Linked DNA regions of Homo sapiens: regions 2, 3 and 4 are each linked to region 1. The links are contacts of gene promoters, found by promoter capture Hi-C in blood cells and fetal thymus (Javierre and others, 2016). All regions are on one chromosome and are shown on one strand. Each heading gives the region's core, a stretch centred on a gene start or on the middle of the fragment in contact. The rest is flanking DNA. Distances are from core to core; before and after follow the strand shown. Region 1 holds the start of AGAP3 (ArfGAP with GTPase domain, ankyrin repeat and PH domain 3). Region 2 overlaps LRRC61 (leucine rich repeat containing 61). Region 3 overlaps LOC728743 (zinc finger domain-containing protein LOC728743). Region 4 has its middle 4.1 kb from the start of LINC00996.

Evidence for each region. The method cuts DNA at HindIII sites, captures the fragments that hold promoters and counts their contacts. A CHiCAGO score of 5 or more calls a contact.
Region 2: a contact is called between a fragment that was not itself captured here and the fragment with the promoter of AGAP3 in region 1, in 2 of 17 cell types (fetal thymus and non-activated CD4 T cells). The highest score is 6.2, in fetal thymus.
Region 3: a contact is called between a fragment that was not itself captured here and the fragment with the promoter of AGAP3 in region 1, in 4 of 17 cell types (naive CD4 T cells, erythroblasts, naive B cells and 1 more). The highest score is 7.1, in naive CD4 T cells.
Region 4: a contact is called between a fragment that was not itself captured here and the fragment with the promoter of AGAP3 in region 1, in 2 of 17 cell types (naive B cells and total B cells). The highest score is 5.1, in naive B cells.

Annotation. Positions count from the first base shown.
Region 1 is chr7:151,084,974-151,087,873 of GRCh38, forward strand. It overlaps AGAP3 (ArfGAP with GTPase domain, ankyrin repeat and PH domain 3), which reads left to right and starts at 1,502. Exons shown (of 18, transcript NM_031946.7): 1 at 1,502-2,099. The coding sequence starts at 1,769. RefSeq lists silencers at 1,222-1,471, 1,522-1,611, 1,978-2,047, 2,408-2,677 and an enhancer at 2,898-2,900. The HindIII fragment of the contact is 3,352 bases long and covers 261-2,900 here.
Region 2 is chr7:150,324,542-150,327,441 of GRCh38, forward strand. It overlaps LRRC61 (leucine rich repeat containing 61), which reads left to right. Exons shown (of 3, transcript NM_001142928.2): 2 at 1,300-1,469. Among named protein-coding and RNA genes, the nearest start is that of ACTR3C, 2.4 kb to the left of the region's middle. The HindIII fragment of the contact is 2,722 bases long and covers 183-2,900 here.
Region 3 is chr7:150,406,833-150,409,732 of GRCh38, forward strand. It overlaps LOC728743 (zinc finger domain-containing protein LOC728743), which reads left to right. Exons shown (of 3, transcript NM_001395976.1): 2 at 752-1,656. The coding sequence starts at 780. The coding sequence ends at 1,391. Among named protein-coding and RNA genes, the nearest start is that of ZNF775-AS1, 24 kb to the left of the region's middle. RefSeq lists an enhancer at 117-166. The HindIII fragment of the contact is 2,546 bases long and covers 139-2,684 here.
Region 4 is chr7:150,428,127-150,431,026 of GRCh38, forward strand. No RefSeq gene overlaps it. Among named protein-coding and RNA genes, the nearest start is that of LINC00996, 4.1 kb to the right of the region's middle. RefSeq lists an enhancer at 700-869. The HindIII fragment of the contact is 4,508 bases long and covers 1-2,900 here.

The sequences.
Region 1 (2,900 bases), core at 252-2,751:
AAGAGCTAGACGTGTGAACAGCCCAACAGTGCTATAACACGTGTGTGCTAGTTGCTGGGGCAACACATTTGAGGAGCTCTTTGCTCTTAGTGTCTCTCTTGGGAGGTATACCTGGTGCTACTTCCTGCTGTCAATTCTAATTAAGCACCTAAAAGAGATGTTGGATGTTACTTTTAGAATTATACAACATCAGAACTAGGTTTTATGTTCAACCACTATATTTCGCAGATGAAACCCAGAGAGGGCACAAGATATCCTTAAGCTTATGCAGGGAGATAGAAACACAGGTTCCTCAGGAGCTTAGGAGACCCTGTGTGTTGATTAGCTTGCACCAGGTGCTTTGGAAGGTACAAGGAACTCGGGAATAGTGACTGGGTTGGTTCTGGGGCTGAGTTGTGTGGGTAATCAAACAGTGGACAGCTTCATGCTGGGAAAAGATCCAGCTTGGCCAGGGAAGTGGAAGTGTGCGTAAGAAGGACGATGTGTGTCACTGATGCCCTAGGATATCTGGGGGTAGCAGATACCCTGCAACATCTCTGGCAGATTTATTGGCTGCGGCCTCTGCAAATGTCACCTCTTGTAGGTTTTAGGAAACGTGTGTGTGTTGGTGGGGGGGAGGGGGCTAACAGAACTGCAGCCCACTTTGGCAATGGGACTGCAGAGGAACTGGGACATTTCAGGGAGCTCCCTGGCCCTAGAGGGAGTGAAAGGACAGGATGGACAAGGGGTGAGGACAAGAAAAATTGAGAGCCACGTGGGCTTTGGTTGGTCTCTCCAATGGGATGAGTAGGGGAGAAAGGCATATACTATTTCATCCCTCCCTCTTCTTCCTCTATGTACCAATGGGGTCGGGTAGCATTTAGCTAATCTCCCAAGTCCGGCAGGGGGAGGGTCTTTTAGGAGAGCACTGCTGCAGCCGGCAGTGGAGAGCCTGGGCAGGGAGACAGGGAGAAAACTCCGGCAGCAGGGTGGTCTCTAGGGCTGACCTCGGAGCCTGGGGACAGGGGAGCCTATGCCGCACTGAAGGCGGGACGCTGTAAGCGAGGAGCAGCTGGGCCTGGGCGGACTCCTCGGCCAATCAGCCTCGGTCAGCAGCACCCTCAGGCGCAGGGCACTGTTTGGGCATTGCCTAGAGATCCGACACCCCGCCCAGATCAGCGCAGGGAGGCGAAAGCGACAGCCGGGCGCGGGAGGAGACCAGGGCAGCTGTCCCCTCCGCGAGGGTGGCCCTCGAGGCAATGCGGGTGGGGGCTGGTGAGGAGGCGGAAGGGCCGAGGCTGAGTGGGAGGGGCCGGGGCGCCAGGGCTGGAGCGCGCGGCTCGGGGGTGGAGGCTGCAGAGCCAGCGAGCGAGCGAGGGGCGGGGGCGCCCGGGCCGGCGCGCAGGAGGGGCGGGGGCGGCGGGGAGGGGGGCTCGGGCTGCGTGTGCCGGAGCCGGCGGGGGCGGCGGTGCGTGCGCATGACGCGGGGGGAGGGCCTGGGCCGCGCGCTCCCGGTCCCGTTGTTGTTGCCGCTGGAGGCTGCTCCGAGGCAGCGGGATCACGGCGCTGGGAAGCGCTCGGCAGCGGCGGCCACAGCGTGCGCGGCGGCGCCTCCTGGCCTCGGCCTCCGGCCCCCGGCCCCCGGCTCCATGCGCTAGCCCCGCGCCGCCAGCCCAGTAGTCCCGGCCCCGCCAGCCCCGCGCTCCCGCTCGCCGCTGCCGCCGCCGCCGCCGCCGCCGCCTCCGCCGCGCCGCCCCGGGCCCGCCTCGGGCCCCACGGCTCCGAAGCCATGAACTTCCAGGCGGGCGGGGGGCAGAGCCCGCAGCAGCAGCAGAGCCTGGCGGCTCCGGGGGGCGGCGGCGCTGCCGCGCAGCAGCTCGTCTGCGGCGGGCAGTTCGGCGGCGCGGGGCCCGGGGCCGGGGGCGGCGGCGGCCCCTCGCAGCAGCTGGCCGGCGGGCCCCCCCAGCAGTTCGCGCTCTCCAACTCCGCGGCCATCCGGGCCGAGATCCAGCGCTTCGAGTCCGTGCATCCCAATATCTACGCCATCTACGACCTGATCGAGCGCATCGAGGATTTGGCGCTGCAGAACCAGATCCGGGAGCACGTCATCTCCATCGAGGGTGAGCGGAGCCGGGGGCTGCGGGAGCCGGGGCGCAGTGGCCTCTCCGGCGCCGGCCGAGGGCTCCACAGGCCGTGCCTGGCCATGCTCTCCCTGTCGGGGGTCCTTGCGCGCTTGAGGACCAGGCCACGAGGTTTGCCGATCTGTGTTGCAGAACCGGCGGGCAGCTTCGCCATATCTCGTTCGGGGACACTTTGGGGTTGGGGGTTTTCTGCTGACTGTGTTCCAGGGCGCGAAGGTGGTGTCGCTTGGGGGGGCCGGGACCAGATCTGTCCAGGCCTGGCCGGGGAAGGTGGGCGCGGCAGAGGGCTTCAGCTGCGGGGAGGTGGGGTCGTGACCGGGGAGGCTTCTTAGCCGCTGCCCGGGCCCTGCTCCGCAGTGGGGCGGGGGATCGGAGCCTCGCGTTAGTGGATGGCAGCCTTCCCGGGCCCAGCGCCCGCAGGCCCGGAGGGTGGCGCTCGCCGCGGCGCCCTCTCCCGACGCACACCCCCTACGCCGCGGCGGCCAAGCGGGAGCGGGCCGGGCCTGGCGCTGGGCTGAGGCTCAGCGACCGCGTGGGAGGCGCCGGCAGGTCCATCCGCGCTTTGGCCGGGTCATGAGCCTGACGGGGATCCGCGGCTCCTCGGTCTGGAGGCAGCTGCTGGGCAGCCGGGTGCTGACCGACCGCCAGGGACACCGCACCCGGAGTCGGGGACCGGAAACCCCCGGCCACTGCGCTGCCTAGCGCTTTTTTCTCTGGGCCCTTAGGCCCTGGACTTTCGACCGCTGAGGGCACAGGAAGTGGTGGCACGCTGCTGGCAGA
Region 2 (2,900 bases), core at 294-2,793, 760 kb before region 1:
TGAGCAATCAACATGCCTGGCTCTCAGGCATAAGCTGCCTCACTTCCCTTCTGCACAGCACTCCAGGACTTGCCTGCTACCAGACCCATCCTACTTTCTCTGTCAGGAAAAATGAGAGTTCTTCCTGGTCTCTTGAGGCCAATCCCTTCCACCGCCTGTGCCCTGGATCCCTTTCTCCAGGAAGCTTCTCTTCCCTGTGTAGTTAGCCTCCCCGCTCTTCCCAGGTCACCTTCTCTCTGTTTAGGGACAGAGCCAAGCCTTTTCCCTCCCATCCCCACCTCCAGCATTCCCGGTTCCTGCTTCTCCCCCACTTCCTGCTGTACCGCCCACTGAAGGGACCTTTGACCCCGCTGACCACTGCTTTTGGAAAGTCTTTTCTTGGTTTCCCTAACTTCACTTTACTTTGGTTTTTCCTTGTCTCTCCCCTCTGCCTCTCAGTCACCTTTGAGATCTGCTCATCCTCTCACCTCCCTGTATTGTCAGCATTACCTGGGCAGCCCCCTCTGGTGTTTTCCTTCAGTTTCTCTAGAAACTTGCCTGAAGATTTGCCCCAAAATAGCCCACATGGACCTGTATGAGGAAAGAGGCTCACTGTGGAGGCGCTCTCCATCATTCCTCCTCTTCCACTTGAGGCTTAGGCATGGGCCACCTCCTGAACAGCTCTCCCCACAGTCTCCTCCATGCATTGTGCCATCACCCCGCCCTGCCGTCACCCCGGCCTGGCCCGCTTTCCCTTTTGCCTCCCAGGGATGTGCCTGCTTCCCATGTGGCCTGGCTAGGGCGCTTTCCTGACTGCTGCCCACATGATCGACTATGGGCAGGCGTGCAGCCCAAAAGGCCGTGCTTCAGCTTAGAAGCCCTTGGAATCTTGTCTTGTTGTGGTTGTAGGCCTCCAATGTGTTGTCAGCTGTGGTGATGTGTGTCACAAGTAACTTCTTTTTTTTGAGACAGGGTCTGGCTCTGTTGCTCAGGCTGGAATGCAGTGGTGCAATCACGGCTCACTGCAATCTCCACTTCCCTGCTCAAGCCATCTTCCTGCCTCAGACTGCCAAGAAGCTGGGACCACAGGCACAGGCCATCACAGCTGGCTGATTTTTTTGTATTTTTTTTGTAAAGACAAGGTTTCGCCATCTTGCCCAAGCTGGTCTCAACCCCCTGAGTTCAAAGCAGTCCACCCACCTTGGCTTCCCAAAGTGCTAGGATTACAGGCGTGAGCCACCACACCTGGCCACAAGTAACTTCTTAGTTATAAAGTACTGAAATTTATCAATGACTTTCTTTTTAAAATTTACGTTTTAGATTCATTTGGATTCAAGGTTGGCTCTCAACAGTGCCAGCTGCACTGTCATCCTAAAGTACTTCTGTGGAAGAGAACATGGTGGTGTCACTGTTGTACCAGTGATGACACAAAATCCCAGATCTACCTGACGGGCCTGCGAGGGTTGAAGATTGTGAAGCAATAGCCTAAGGTAAACAACACCTTGCAAGACGGGTCTAAGCTCTTCAGTGTAATAGACCCTGTTTCTCAGTAGGTCAGCCCGGGGGCCCCCCAGGGATCCCTCCCCGCCTCATAGCACCATACCCCACTTTCCCCCTGGTCTAATGATGAGCCCATTTCTAGGTTGTCGTCTCATCCTGAGCCCCAAGTGCCAGCCAGGCAGCTACTCTCCTCTGTTCATATCTTGAAGGCAGAGTGCTGGCTCATAGTAGACATTTGATGAATTTCTGTTAAATGATTGAGTGAATCAAGAGTATCTGCAGAGTATAGCATTTATGATGAGACAAAGCTAATTGGGAAACAGAACAAGATTGGTGTCCTGGGGTAACTGGGTAGGTCTTAAGATGAAGATTTTGGGGTGTGCTGGGTGCAGTGGCTCACACCTGTAATCCCAATACTTTGGGAGGCTGAGGCAGGGGGATTGCTTGATCCCAGGAGTTCAAGACCAGCTTGGGCAACATGGTGAAATCCCGTCTCTACAGAAAACACAAAAATTAGCTGGGTGTGGTGGTGCACATCTGAAGTCCCAGCTACTTGGGAGGCTGAGTTTGGGAGGATTACTTGAGCCCAGGAGGCAGAGGTTGCAACAAGGTAGATCATGCCACTGTACTCCAGCCTGGGTGACAGAGCAAGACCCAGTCTGAAAAAAAAAAAAAAAAAATACTTTGGAGGGTGACCCCGTTCTGCAGATGGCCTCTGGAGGCCTGGATGTTCACACTCTGGGGTTGCAGTTTCCTCAATCATGAAGTGAGAGTTAAGTCCCCTCCAGTGTGACATCCAAGAGCAGTTGTGGGCCCAGGACAGCAGCCTGTGTTTCCTTTGCAGCTTTACCTAGCCCCTACACAAGCGCCACCTTGCAGTAGGCCTTCAGTTCTTGGATTTATTGGTGGCTGAAAGTTCTTGCGAGATGGACTTGAAGTTGTTGCCACTTAACCCTTCTGAGGTTCTTCTGGCTGGGAGGAGCTCCTCTTTCTGGCCAGAGTCTTGCTTGAGCCTTCTTAGCCATCTCGTCACCTGTTATAGGCAGCCCTGCCATCTCTGGTGACCCTTTTTAAACATTACCCTGGTGAGTAATGTTTAGCATCACTCATTGTCAGATCTTTTTTATCTTTTTTTTTTTTTGAGTTTCAGTACCAGTAAGTCTTTATGTATTCATTATATCTTTCCAGGGAAAGGAGAAGGGAAGTGAAAAGGGTCAGCATGTGTGTTGCAAAGTGATTAGAAAATGGGAAAGGAAGTACCTGGTACAGAAAAATCAGCCATCCAATAGATGCACCCCAGAGATGGAGTAACCAAAGCCCAAGGGGCCCTGGTCTCCTGCAGTTCAGGACTGAGGGGCAGGGATCAGGGAAGGTACAAGCCTTTCTACCCTCCCTCCCTGCCCCTAAATTCAAGATTTCAC
Region 3 (2,900 bases), core at 162-2,661, 680 kb before region 1:
GGGAGCCCACACCCTGGTTCAGTGACTTGGAAACCTTTTGAACACATGCCTCATTTTGATAAACAAAGAGCTGCCGCCTTTAATGTTTAACCGAGGTCACTTTCAAGTTTACAGGGTTGTGTTTTTTTTCCTGTTTTAAGCTTCACAAAAATATCTTTAAATCACTGATAATGCCACCCTTTTCTCCAAGTTTGGGGTGCACTTCCCTACCTCCCCCTGTCCTTGAGATCTGGTTGGAGGGATAAGACATATCTAGACGAAGGTAACTGAAAATCCTAGCTGAAACTGAAACTGAAAATCCTAACTGAAACTCATCACCATCTGTCTAGTGTCTTGTGTGGCTGGCTGGCATGGTGCTAGGTGCTGGGGTTGAAAGAAGGCAGCTCTGTCCTTAGGGTGCTGGGAGTCGGGGGACAGAGGTGGCATGACTGACCCTCGTGCAGTATGATCAGTGAGAGCCACATGGTTGTGTCACACGGTGTTTAAGCCCGGGGTGGAAAGGTCAGGGAAGGCTTCTAGGAGAAGGTGCCCTTGGGAAGGGACTGGAAGGAGTGTAGGCCGTGCTTAAAAGGCAGTGGAGGAAGAGGAACACCAATTCCCAGCAGGGGAACTTGAGCTTGAACAAAACGGGGCGAAAGGTGGAGGTTGTGGGAGGTGAGTGTCCCTGCCAGGCTGGGGGTTGGCTAACCCTCGTGTTCCCCGACCCCTCTCTCTCCACCCCCCACCCCCGCCCCCGCTTCTGTCTCCCTAGGGACTGGTGATTGCAGCTGGAAGTGCCCATGACCGAGCTGGCGTCCTCCGGGGGCGGGTCCCCTGCGGGGGACGGGGAGGAGGGTCTGGGGGACGAGCGAGGCCTGGTCATCCACCACCCTGCAGAGGAGCAGCCCTACCGCTGCCCGCTGTGCGGCCAGACCTTCTCGCAGCAGCCCAGCCTGGTGCGGCACCAGAAGGCGCACGCCGGAGCGGGCCGCGCGGCTGCCTTCGTGTGTCCCGAGTGCGGCAAGGCCTTCAGCGTCAAGCACAACCTCGAGGTGCACCAGCGCACGCACACCGGGGAGCGGCCCTTCCCCTGCCCCGAGTGCGGCCGCTGCTTCAGCCTCAAGCAGAACCTGCTCACGCACCAGCGCATCCACAGCGGCGAGAAGCCGCACCAGTGCGCGCAGTGCGGCCGCTGCTTCCGCGAGCCGCGCTTCCTGCTCAACCACCAGCGCACCCACGCGCGCATGCCCGCGCCGCACCCGCGCCGCCCCGGCGTCTTCGGGGAGCGGCGGCCCTACTTCTGCCCCCGCTGCGGCAAGAGCTTCGCGCGCGAGGGCTCGCTCAAGACCCATCAGCGCAGCCACGGCCACGGGCCCGAGGGCCAGGCGGCCCACTTAGGACGCGTGCTATGATGCGCCCGGGGCCTGCTGCCGACGGCTGCTTCCCGCCCCGCACGTGCGTCCCCGACCCCTGGAGATGGCCCTGGGCCGCAGCTCCCTCTCTAGATGGGATCCCGGGAGAGGGGCAGCGCTGGCTTGGGCTCTTGAAGGTGTGGGCCGCCGCCAGGCTCCGGCCGCCCGCTCGCGTTCCTCCCTCGGGACCCTCTGGCTGGCTGCGCACAGCTGCTTCCGGCTCCTGCCATGGTTCTCCTTCTCTGGCCCATCCGGCCTAGAGCAGGTGAGACCTGCGGGGCTGGCCAGAGCCCCTCTCAGGGCTGGGAGTGGTGGGGGTGGAGTGCGTGGTGTTGATTCTTGATGGCAGGTGGGGCGGTCTGGGTACCGGGCTGTAGGTTTCTCTGTGATGAGCTGCTTACCGGATCTTCATCCCCAGAATGTCAGAGTTGAAAGAGACTTGGAGAGGCCACTTTCCACAAACCCCACGCCCAACCTCAGCCCCTAGGCCTCCTGGCTCCTGTACACACTCTCTGCTGTCCTTGAGATGTCATTTCACTTCATGTTTCAGTTTACTCATCTGTAAGTTGGGGATATAGATGAGGGACTCTTCCTCGCTGGGATATATTGCAGCTACTGGATGAGAGAGGGTGAGGTCACTGGTGCACAGAGCCTTAGTTGATTCTGCCACACCATGTGCCACTGACTGTGCCGGGCTGGGCTCTCCCAGAGACACACATGAGGACCGCAGGCCCTGACACGGGGTGCTCACACTCGGTGTGTGACGCGGGGCCAACCTACAAAGTGCTCTGGGGTGAGACCGAGGAGGGTGACTGGTTTCTCTTCGTCACCCAGGGGAGTTTGATGGCTTTGAACCAGGTCATGGGGACAAATAAAATTGTTCTAGGAAGAGCAAGTGTGTAGAAGGGTGTTTTCAAGGGAGGGGGGGTCCTGATAGTTCAGTGACTGTCTCCAGGTGTCCCAAGGGGAGGTTTGCCCTACAAAGGACTTCGTGGTCAGGGGGTGGGGACACTGAGATTTTTAATGAGATGAGTGCTATGATCTCAGACTTATGCTTTAGGAGGAGAATCAGAGGCACTGTGAGGACAGACTGATGTGGGAAGAGCTGGAGCCTCGAGGGGCTTGGGTCATCTGGGCAAGAGAACATAAGGCCCCCAGCTAAGAGGCCTGGCCAAGGTCTGGCAGTGAGAAAGGGGGCAGCCAGGACTCTGCTCCAGGACCTCTGGTTCCAAGCTGGCGCTCTGAGGCACGGGCCTCTTCAGCCTTTTGGCAGATGAGGAAACAGGTTTGCCAAGCTTGCCTACACCACAGTTGGTACTTAGGGGTACAACAGGTGGAAGCCAGGGCTTTGTTTTGGATTCTGAATCCCAGAACCTTTTAGCTTCACTGCTTAAAAAGTGGACGATGGAGCAGGGAGGATTTGGGGCCATGTGATAGGAGCTGGGGCAGGGGTGTTAGGGGTGGTACGGGTGTTTGAAGGGGACATGGCATCCCTGGGAGTGGTTTGGG
Region 4 (2,900 bases), core at 121-2,620, 660 kb before region 1:
GCCTCAAACGCCTTTCACCAGAGGCCTGACTAGTGCGGCAGGTCAGGAAACAAGAAGAGACTTTAGAAGAGGGAGGCCTTGCCTTGTGTTCCTCAGAACCGGGACACTTGGTCCTCACCGGGGTGAGGCTGGGCAGAGTGCACCCTCCAGCCGCCTGTACCTCCACAGCCCTGCAGGCCGAGAGATGCAAGATAAACTGTGGATGGCACCCACTTTGGAGTCAGGAGGCCTGAGACTCTCCCCCAGCTGGTTCCTTCACGACCTTGGGGAAGTCACTTCCTTTCTGGGGGCTACAGTTTCTTCACTGAAGAATGAGGAGGTTAGATGGGAAGTCACTACTTCCAAAGATTTGTTTTTTTTTTAATGAAAGTAAAATCTTATTTTTTCAAAATATCACTAGGAAGACCCATGGATCACCCCAGGAGTGTTCCAGCTACAGCATGGGATGGGTCTCCCTCTCCCCAGCAACCTTGTCTGCTGGGCCCACCCCTTAGGTGTCCGGGGGCCCCCACTAGAACCTGCAGAAAACATTTGGAACCCACTGGACTTGCTTGCAGGTCCCGTAGAGTCCCACCCTCTAGGATTCTCTAAGGAATTCACAGGTACCCCCTCCGACCCCCAACCACACTCTCCACAGACACATGCACAGAAACGTAAGCACTGCCCACAGCTGTGTGCACACACAGGGACTTTCAGAGGCATGATTCAGAAGCCACACTGGGCAAAGTGCCCTCCTGCTGTTTGTGTTCACTCACGCAGCCCTTGGCCGCCTTCTTCCTGTCTTCTTTATTTGCTGCTGTCACTCCCACCTCCTGTGGAGTAGACCAGATGGCCGCATCTGCCCAAGGAAGTGTCTACAGAGGAAATGGCAAAGTGCATTCCAGCCAAGGTAGAAATCACTGGCAGGCAAGCTCTCAGGGCCAAGGCACTGGGGCTTTGGAGTCCTGGCCTGGGTCCCTACCCAAACCCTTGTCCCCTCAGATACATCCCTAGACCCCTTCCTGAGCAACCTGGAAAGAACCCGCAGACCCATTTTCTGCACATTCCTCAGCCCCACAGGGAGAGGAAAATGCTCCACCTCCTCCAGTTGCTGCCCAGGCTGCCGGCTACGAGGGGCTGTGGCTTCCACATTCCCTTCTCCAGTGCAGCCAGGCTTGACCTTTCAGAAAATCCTTGACGATGGGAAGGACTCCCAAGGATGGCATAGAATAGCCAGGCCCAGCCCCTGGACCTGCATAAAGCAATTGTTTGGAGGCAGAGAGTCGGATGCCTGGTGAATGGGGGGCTGGTACTCAATATAGTCAGAGAAGGCAGTGTCCTTACTCAGCTGCTCTCAGAGCGAAGGCACTTGCCCTCTGCAGGCTGCCCCAGAAGCCAAAGGAAAGCAACTGGAAGCTAAAGGGAAGGTTTGGGGACTTTAATAGCTGATATAGTTTGGATATTTGTCCCTGCCCAAATCTCATGTTGAATGAAATGTAATCTGCAGTGTTAGAAGTGCCTGGTGGGAGGTGTTTGGGCCATGGGGGCAGATCTCTCATGAATGGCTTGGGCCATCCTCCTGGTGATGAGTGAGCTCTTGCTCTGAGTTCACATGAGATCTGGTCATTTAAAAGTGTGTGGCACCTTCTACCTCACCAACCCCCCACCTCTCCCTCTTTCTCTCTCTGTCTCATGCTGAAGGAGACATGGAACAGTGAGATTCTCCCTTGGAGCCTCCAGAAGGAACCTGCCCTGTGGACACCTTGATTTTAGCCCTGTAGGTTCATTTCAGACTCTGGACTTCCAGAACGCTAAGAGAGTAAGTCTGTGTTGTTCAAGCCACTTTTTGTGGTGGTTTATTATGCAGCAATGGAGAACAAATACACCCGGCATGTCCTGGGACAAAGCCTGGGGACGGCGGGGGGACTGAGCTGGACGCCCATACCCCAAAGCACGAAGGGAAGAGACCAGCAGCTAACACTCGAAGAGGCCGACTAGTTCTCAAAAGGGAGAAGAGGTATGGCCTGAAAGCCAAGGAGCAAGGGAGATGCTAACTCTAACCGCATTATTTTTTTGGAGACAGGGTCTCCCTTGGTCACCCAGGCTGGAGTGCAGTGGTGCAATCATGGCTCACTGCAGCCTCGACCTCCTGGGCTCAAGCGATCCTCCTGCTTCAGCCTCCAGAGCAGCTGGGACCACAGGTGTGCACCACCACGCCCTGCCCCCTAACCCCATTTTCTGTCCCTGGGGTACATGGGGTGTGAGATAATAAACAGTCCCCACTGGAGAGAGATTATTTAATCCTCATCCTACTCCACAAGACCATTATCGTTACGATCTTCCTTCTATAGATCAGGAACCTGAAGTACTTGGGGGTGGAGGTCACTTGCTCAAGTTCAGGCAGTTAGGAAGGGCAAAGCAGAGGTTTGAACCGTGCCTGCACCTGTGAAGTTTGGAAACCATCATCGCATTCCCCCAGGGGAATAGTCTAGGATCTGAGTTCCAGCTTCTCCATCTGAGGCAGCGGTCCCCAGGCGCTGGCAGCAACGTGCAGCTGCTGGGGTACGAGGCAGCTGCCTGCAGAGACCGTGCCTTCCCCTTGGTGCAGATGCAGTGGGCAGCCTGCACTTTGCTGCTCCTGTGTCCGACTCCTTGGGGTTCTGTTCTGGAGACAGAGCTCAGTGGACTCACAAGACGGTCACTTTCTTCTGTTGAGTCCCTGAGTTTATTTGATGAAATCCAGAACTGAAGTTCCTGGAATAAGTCATCTTACCACCAGTGTTTTGAATTAACGAACTCAAATGTCATCTCCTCCCACACAAACATTTCTCTTTAGACATACAAGGATGAAGATGAAGAGAAAAAGCCAGGCCATATGCTGGGCTGTGGTGCGGATTACATTCTGTGTCCGGGGTGCTTGT